Regions from separate parts of the Homo sapiens genome. Here region 2 is linked to region 1. The links are contacts of gene promoters, found by promoter capture Hi-C in blood cells and fetal thymus (Javierre and others, 2016). All regions are on one chromosome and are shown on one strand. Each heading gives the region's core, a stretch centred on a gene start or on the middle of the fragment in contact. The rest is flanking DNA. Distances are from core to core; before and after follow the strand shown. Region 1 holds the start of LDB2 (LIM domain binding 2). Region 2 overlaps LDB2 (LIM domain binding 2).

Region 1 (4,369 bases), core at 1,252-3,751:
AATGTGGCCATGCATAAGAAAGATTGCAAGTTTAGGAAGATCAAGTATAGCAAATAAATAAATGAATGAACACACAAATGAGTAAATGAATGAGTGTGTGTGAGTGTGTGTGTGTATGTGACAGAGGGAGAAAGAGACAGCACAGAAGTGCGGGTCTTACCGAGCCCTGTATGCCATGTTCCTAAGGAACTTGCACGTTTTCCTTCTGGCAGCAGGGAAACACTGAGGGGGAAAACATGGGACATGATCGCTTTCACTTATCTGAAATCCACATTCTCATTTGAATAAGGACAGACCACAAGTTAGAAGAGGACTGTGAATCTGTGGGCAGGGGGACCAGTTCGGAGACTCCTGAAATAACGGGGATGAGAATCAGGGATATGGATCAGCATTATCAAGTTTCAGATAGTTCTGAAATGAGAGTCTTTCACTATTAATGGCAAGAAATATTTCCAATTATAATTGGCAATGGTCTGCAGAAACAAATGAGAGCAAACCAGAACCTTATTCAGAGAGGGATTCCCTTCCTAAATGGATTTTTGAACTGTTTCATTTTTTTTTGTTACTATTGGCCTGCACAGGCCTGCCTAGGTGTTACTTTCATTCTTGCACTGAAATGGTCACATTAACACAAACTCAGGCAGACACTAAACTTTCAGAATGTCTTTAGTTTGAGAGTTTAAACATAAGGAACCATTAGGTTTTGCAGTGGCTGCCATACCAAAACGTAAATCATGCCAAAATTGTTTGAAATCCTGTCTTTAGAAGGTTGTGTGTTTTGACAAACCTTGCAGCAAATTTGGTCCAGCTTTCGGATTTGTAATGAAACCTGAAACCAAGCATTCTCGCCTGCCTTGGGGTCTCCTAGCGCAAGTTCCAAGCAGCCTTAGTGTAATACCTACCCTAATCTCATCCTGGGAAGCGACATTAGTGTGTTAGGCTGCGCTGCTGGAAGTTTGGGGTGGACTCAGCAAATATTTCATGCAATTATGAAGAAGGACTGATCAAGACAGCAATACACTTTTCTGTGTCTGAGTATTTTTAAGAGTGTAAATTGCAGAATTAGCAATACTCTATCCCCTGTTGGCTAGTGACTTGGAGATACCCAAGCCATGATTGGGGCAGAAAGTTAATTAATCTGCTTATTAAAAAGAAGAAATGTCTCATTTGCATGCATTTGCATTCAGGTCTTGAATTCATTATGCTTTTTGGTGGTCCTTTGCTTTATTTCCTTAATACCACTGACCTACCTAGGTGTTAGCTCAATACATTTAAATTTTGTGTGGCTGGGCTTTGTTTAAGTGTCGTATCTCTGGTTATAGTGGGTTCTAGCAGAATTTGATTATTTTATAGATTGTTTAATTCTCTATAGAGATTTTCCCCTTCCATGGGCTGTTGGGATTTCTTATGGTTATCATATACCACAGTTGGGAAAATATTTGTTTACTTGACCAATCTTGGAAAATACAGACTTTGTCTCCATAAGAGTTGGACATGTTATCTGGGGATGATCCATTCAATTATTTGCAATTTCCTTCTCAACCAAATTTTCCGTGGTCATTTTTGTGGCAGTTTTCTCCTTCTTTGCTTTTCCTGTCTTATTGGGAGGTCTGTTTGGGTTTTTTGTTTGTTTGTTTGTTTGTTTTTCCTTCCTGGGAAAAAAGACCATTGCTCTCCTTAAGTGTATTTTATACCTTCCACATTCAGAACGACTGTTTTTACCTGAAAATGCCCAGGCACCTTAAGGGCCTGAATGAAGTCTTTGGAGAAGAGGGAGGTGGCTGGGAAGAGGGGTGAGTGGGGAGAGATGGGAGTGAGATGGAGTGGAGGGCAAAGAATATAACAGCCCTTGGAACAACAGCAAGTAAAGCAAAACTACATAGGGAGATTAGTGCTGAAATAAATCTCTGCATGTGAGTGAATCACCGGTCCCAATTCGGGGCACCACAGTGCCCGTGTTTCTGTATTTTGTAGTAATCAACATTTCTGATACATTACAACAGTGTGGTTGTCAGGGGTGAGCGGCTCATGTAGCGGTTAGACCACCTCTATGCTAACAAGCTTAGCAATCAGGTTGTGAAGGGTCCTGGCTGGAGGAAAAAAATTAAAACCAAACCTTAGACCTCTTGTCAGACTGTGAGGAGAATTATATTTGTGAACTAGTCTACAATGTGGACAGGAAATGACCTCTCCACAAACTGCTTCTTTAAAAACAAGCAGTGGTGCCTAAAGCTATCCAGCTCCTCTCTCTCTCTCTCTCTCTCTCTCTCTCTCTCTCTCTCTCTCTCTCTCTCTCTCTCTCTCTCTCCCCCTCCCTCCCTCCCTCCTCCCTCCCTCCCTCCCTCCCTTCTTCCCTCCCTTCCTCCATACCAACCTCCCTCCCTCTCTGGAGCTCCTGCTCTCTCCCTCTCCCTCCTCTCCCGTGCTCCCTCCCTCCCTCCCTCTTTCCCTCCCTCCTCTCCTCTCCCTCTCCTCTCCTGCTATAGAGGGCTCCGACAGCAGTTCCCAGCCAGCGTGTTCAGCCTGCCTGCCTGCCTGCCTCTGTGTGTGTGTGAGCGTGTGTGCGTGCGTCTACTTTGTACTGGGAAGAACACAGCCCATGTGCTCTGCATGGACGTTACTGATACTCTGTTTAGCTTGATTTTCGAAAAGCAGGCAAGATGTCCAGCACACCACATGACCCCTTCTATTCTTCTCCTTTCGGCCCATTTTATAGGAGGCATACACCATACATGGTACAGCCAGAGTACCGAATCTATGAGATGAACAAGAGACTGCAGTCTCGCACAGAGGTAAGTACTTCAACCTTGGGGATGTGTTTGTGTATTTTTGTTAAGCTATGCATGAGCTTTTCCTAGGGTTTCTGGCTGAATTCTATGGGAAGTGTCCCACTTGATACTACCACGTACGTGGAAATGAGCGCCAGGATGAATCCACGAGTTTGGACGCTGGGTTTCCAGGCACAGCAACTCTTGTAGCAGAGGACAGTTTCTGCCGGAATCTTGAGACAACCCAGCACTTGATTCACATGCCGGGTTTCCAGAAATGTTGCTCTTCCAGAACTCTGGTGTTTTACAGGCTCTGAGTCAGTCCTGTTGGTGTTTCTTGAGATATAATTCCAAGGAATTTTGTGATTGTTTGCATCTGGCTATATATATATATACATATGTGTATATATATATATATATATATATATATACATATGTGTATATATATATATATATATATATATATATATATATATATATATTTTCTTTTTTACAAATCCTAGAGGAAGTCTGCTTTGACCTGTATTTACTTTTCAGAGTCACCAAAATCGAGGTAAAAAGGGGCAGAAGAGTAAACCTGCCTACTTCTCAGAACTAGCCCTGGAGGGACACATGTTTGTATATTTCAGTGTTAAAATCAGAAACCAGTTGCTTGGGGCAAGGGGACTCTAGACTTTCTCCTATTGCTGTCGGCCGTGCCCCCCTATCACTCTACCTTAGGACAGGAGCTGGTTCAGCTTTCAAGTCAGCTCTAGTTTTTGCATATTTGAGATCTTGTGCCTGAGAGAGGGAGACTCAGCCTCCTAGGCAGCCAGCAACTCTGGGAGCAGAGAGAACAGGACTTTCAGAACTTTTTAAATGCAAAACTCCAGACTCGCCTCCTGCAATTTAAATATTTTATGTCAGTTGACTTTTTCTCTGTGCTAGCTCAGCTGGCAGGTCTTGCTGCTGGATTGTCCATCTGCCTGTAAGTTGGGGCTTTGTGTGGAAGTGTTCGGAAAAGGAGTTTGTTATAGGTGCACCAAAGTCACTTTAGGAAGTGGAAATTGCTAGGAATTTAGTCTTCTCTGCAGAGTATAAATACCACAAGATTTATGCCAAAGAGCTTTTAGGGAATAGCTCTGGTGGAATTTTAGATTGAAGATTGACTTTTAACTCTAGGAAGGGACTCCATTAAGTTTGTGCTATGGGATAAAACACAGTTGGCTTGAATTGTCAACAGAGCCATAGAGAATTCATGACGTTTCGTGTATTTAATACAGCTAACAAGATGTGACCTGCTTTCTGATTGGCTAACTGCTGGACAAGGACTTATATGTATTTTAAAAGCTGGGTTGTCTTTAATGACTGCTGTTTTCTTTATATGTTAATACACCATAGACGCTAAATATGACTGCTGGTACTCTTGCTCTTTCTAGAAGCCAGTAGCTTCTATAGAAGTGCAAACTATGTTTTGCTTAGGATAGTGAACTGTTGGCAGTGACTGATATTTGTGCTTGCTGTTTTGTGTATGTTGCTTTGTGTGTGTAACAGTTTGTATATTTCCTTCAGATCTTTGCAACTGTGTGTTGGAATCTTAAATCTCTGCATAAACCATTGGT
Region 2 (4,271 bases), core at 1,614-4,113, 130 kb after region 1:
GGAGTGCAGCCCTGGGCCCGAAGGAAGGTCCCCAAGGTAAGAACCTAGATCTGCGGGCTGTGCTGAGAGTGCAGTGAACCAACAGCAAAGAAGAAGAGAAAGTCCCATCCACACAGGAGAGTGAGCTCCCTACACAGCAATGACGAACCATAGAAAAGTTTTAGCTGGGAGGGTCACAATCTAATGGGTATTGTTAAAAGATCCTCCAGGCTTCTTTGCAGAGCACAGGTTACAGGGGAACAGGAGTGGGGGCTGAGAGATGAGTTAGGAAAAAGTCATTGTTGTCCAGGCTGAAGTTACTGGAGGCACAGAGAAGGGGTGGCAGTGGAAGGAAAGAAACATGGGTGGATTTCCATTCATGTGTTGGAGGTAAGTTCATGGGATTTGCTGACAGATTGGAGGTGTGGAGTTAGGGTAAGACAGGAATCAAGAGTATGTTCTCAAATGCTGGCCTAAGTGACTGAGAAACTGGAATTATATTATGGAGATGGAAGAGAATGAGAAGAATTGGCTTGTAGGGGATGGAGTTGGGGGAGATATCTGGCTTTGGCCATGTTAAGCCTGAGATGCCTCTTTGGTTAAGAAGTGGAGAGGTGAGTGAGGCAGTTAGAGTCACAATTCTGAAGTCCCAGGGAGAAGTTTGGAGCTGTAATATGTACTTGGGTGTCACTGACAGAGAGAATTCAAGTCCCCTGGTAAACAGATTTGTAAACAGAGAAGAGAATAGAAATGATTGACCATCATCAAGAAAAACATTATTTTTTTCTAGGTTTCAAGAATATTCTGGGTTTCTTATATTTGTCTTTGTGAACAAAAATTTTTTTTTCATTTTTTCCAAGTAGGAAGAGAGAAAATCTTGAGTTTTCTTATCTAGTGGTTTCCTGTGGCCTTGGTCCTGGCACAGTCCTCCAATGTTTAGTGGTGACTTGAAGAATTATTCTTGTCATTTGATCAACTATTCAAATGCAATAGGGTGGGTCACAGAAACAAGATTTTGAATCTTGCAAGCTTTTCCAGAAACATTCCCTTGTCTGCTGTGTTTATGTTGGAATGGAAAATTTGTGCCTGATTTTACAGTGAACTTTTCTCAAGATATACGACTTGCTGCCTCATGACATTATCCTGCATCTCGGGACCTCTCACACCTAGATGGTGTGATGTAATACGATGCGCGGTGCTCACTGCCACAGAGCTGTCATGAACAAAACCTGTGCTTCTAGAGTAATGCCTTTCCACGTCATTTTCAAAGTGGCTTTGCATAGGGTTCCCAGTATATTCTTTTTGATTGTGAGAGTACATGTCTCCATGTTTGAGTATAAAATAGGAAATTTAGTTATTAAAAAACAACCAATCCTCTTTCATACTAGAATAGTATAGAGTAGAGATTGCAACAGGCAGCGAGTAAAGCTTTGTGGATGGAAATAAAAATTTATGAGTCAGAGAGGATGCAAATTCCAATGTTGCCGCTTATTTGATTTGTAACCTTGGGTACATTTCTTAACCGCTTGGGGCCTCAGTTTCCCCACTGACATTGGGATAAGAAAATTACCAACTTGATAGAGAGCCTGTGAGGACTAGAAAATACTACATTTTGAAACTCTGTGCATTTTCACTGATTCAGTCATCAAAGAATCAAAGCCCCTGTTTCACAAACATGTAAATAGAGCAGAGAGTGGCAGTGTTCAATTATCATAAAATTAAAAGTGCTGGTTTTCTTCTGGGTTTTGAGAATATGCTGGGTTTTAGTTAAATAAATATTTATTTGTTGAATTAAGTGATTTAAATAATTAAATAATGGAGCAATTATTTGTTGTCTTCCTGCCATGTGTTAGATACTGTGCATGTAAAACACACCAGACATGGGTAAGATGTTGCCCTCAAAAAGCTGACAGGAATCCCAACTTCAAAAAAAAATTATTTCATCACACTTGTAATAAGTCTGGTAGCAAAAAAAGCTCAATTGTTGGCACATACACACTGAGGCATTTGAGTCATTGCTTTTAGTTATTCTAACTAACATTTCTGTTTGGACTGCTCAGAATTAATTACTGATTTTGTGGATCAAAGCTGGAGATTCAAATACATGAATTTCTCAGGTCTTTGGGGGGAAAACCACTGATGTAACTTCTACTGAAGAGCTGTGTCTACTGGATACCAAGTCTTGTCTTTCTGCACATTTTAATATGCGACTTTCTCAAGGCAGCATCCACAGGCACTAGACAGGGAACTATAGTGAGCACCTTCTAAAAGGGAGGGCTTGATTTGTGAGTGAAACACCGAGATGCTCTCTCAAAACACACAATTTGCTATGTTGGTAGTATGCCGTTTTATAATTCAGTTAAAATAATAACTAATGCTTACAGTTAAATAAAATGCAATTTAGCTGAGAATGAGCAAATCACAGTTGAGAATTAGAGAAGAAAAATTCAGTCTCTAGAACATGAGTTGTTTAAGAAAAAAAAAAAAAAAATCCCATAGGGCTGGGCACAGTGGCTCACACCTGTAATCCCAGCACTTTGGGAGGCTGAGGCGGGTGGATCACCTGAGGTCAGGAGTTCGAGAGAAGCCTAGTCAACATGGTGAAACCCGTTTCTACTAAAAATACAAAAATTAGCTGGGCATGGTGGTGGGCTCCTGTAATCCCAGCTACTCGGGAGCCTGAGGCAGGAGAATCGCTTGAACCCAAGGGGCGGAGGTTGCAGTGAGCCGAGACTGTGCTACTGCACTCCAGCCTGGGCAACAAGAGGGAAACTCCATCTCAAAAAAAAATAAAAATAAAAAATAAAAAGAATCCCATAAAAATAAGTAAAAAAGGGGAGATTTAAAATTCCCTCTCTGCATCCTTTTCATGCTTGTGCAGCTACCAGCTGGCAAGGGCAAATGGTCTTACCTTATTACTTTTATTTGTGTGTCTTCAAGCCGAATTCCATAGGTGTGATGGAAATCCTTGCTTTGGGCTGCCTGTTCCAGAGAGAGACCCAAACGTTCAGTGCACTTGGCCTTGACTGGATGTTGAAACAACTAAGAAGACAGATATTTTAGAGATATTGTTTTGAATAAAGGAACATCATAATGGAGCAGTCATGAGTCTAAACTTGCTAGCCAGTAGCCAGAGTCCTTGGGGTTGAACTCTTTCGTGGCAATTTGATAGCTGTGTCATGTTAAGCAAATATCTAACTCCTCAGTGCCTCAGTTTTCTCATCTATAAGATGGGGTTAATAATGCTACTTATATTATAGGGTCATGGTGAGGTTTTAAGGGGTTTATAATGTGCAATGAGTTCAGAAGGGTGACTGGCATACAATAAGTGCCTTGTAACTGTTGACTATTATTATTAAGGGAGGCTGATTCAAAATAAACATGGTTCGAGATAGACCCTTGGTTTTGGAGAAAGGGTGGCTTGTGATTAAGGAATCAAAAACACAGTTACAGTCTTGGAAAACAAATGACCTGAGCTTCCTACAGTGTGAGAGGGACTCTAGGTAACAGAAAGGCAGAAGGCATGAGATTTGGGATTTTTTTTTTGTCTTCTTTCTTAATATCTGGATATGGCAGAAAAAGAAATGTAGGCAGAGCAAGTGTAGCAAGTGTGTTTCTGCCTCGGTCATTTCAGGCAAATTTATCCTTTCTTCAGTATCTTCTGAGAAAGGTTAGCTGATGCATGTAAAACAGGAGTGACTAAAATAGTAAGATACAAATTAATAGTGTTATTTAAATGTGTGTGTACAAGAGAGTAGGGTTATAAGATGAGACATTCTCATTTTTTTCTAGAACCACAAGATACTGAAGAAAGTCAATGCCCTCCCATCTCCCATCTTTCAGACCCCTTCAGAATGCTCTCCACTTTGACCTGTTTAAGTTTATTTTAATAAAAAAAAAACACATTTTCAAGGAATAGATGCTTTAAGTATGGTTCATTCTTTGGAGGGGGTGTATGTGTACCACATGACAAGTGGTTGCCATGGTAATTTCTCATTATTGTTGAATTGAAAAATAATTACTCTGGCAAAAATCCCACGTAACCTGTCAGTGCTTAAGTTAAAGATGCCGAGGGGCAGCCCTGGCACCGGGATCCTGTTTTTGGTGAAGAGGGATAGGGTTGGGAACAGGAGAGAATCTAGGATGGAAGCAAAATGCTTCTGTAGATTTTTAAACATAATTAAGACTCTCTTCTGCTATTTGACATGACTGTGTGTCTCATCCTGATATATGATTAGGCTGCTGGTGAAATTTGGGTTCACCTGTGAGATGGGACAAAAGGACTAAGGACT

What was found. The method cuts DNA at HindIII sites, captures the fragments that hold promoters and counts their contacts. A CHiCAGO score of 5 or more calls a contact.
Region 2: a contact is called between a fragment that was not itself captured here and the fragment with the promoter of LDB2 in region 1, in 1 of 17 cell types (endothelial precursors). The highest score is 5.2, in endothelial precursors.

What each region holds. Positions count from the first base shown.
Region 1 is chr4:16,896,777-16,901,145 of GRCh38, reverse strand. LDB2 (LIM domain binding 2) reads left to right here and starts at 2,501. Exons shown (of 8, transcript NM_001290.5): 1 at 2,501-2,792. The coding sequence starts at 2,661. The HindIII fragment of the contact is 2,891 bases long and covers 2,064-4,369 here.
Region 2 is chr4:16,767,803-16,772,073 of GRCh38, reverse strand. All of the region lies in intron 1 of LDB2 (LIM domain binding 2), which reads left to right. Among named protein-coding and RNA genes, the nearest start is that of LDB2, 130 kb to the left of the region's middle. The HindIII fragment of the contact is 2,908 bases long and covers 1,410-4,271 here.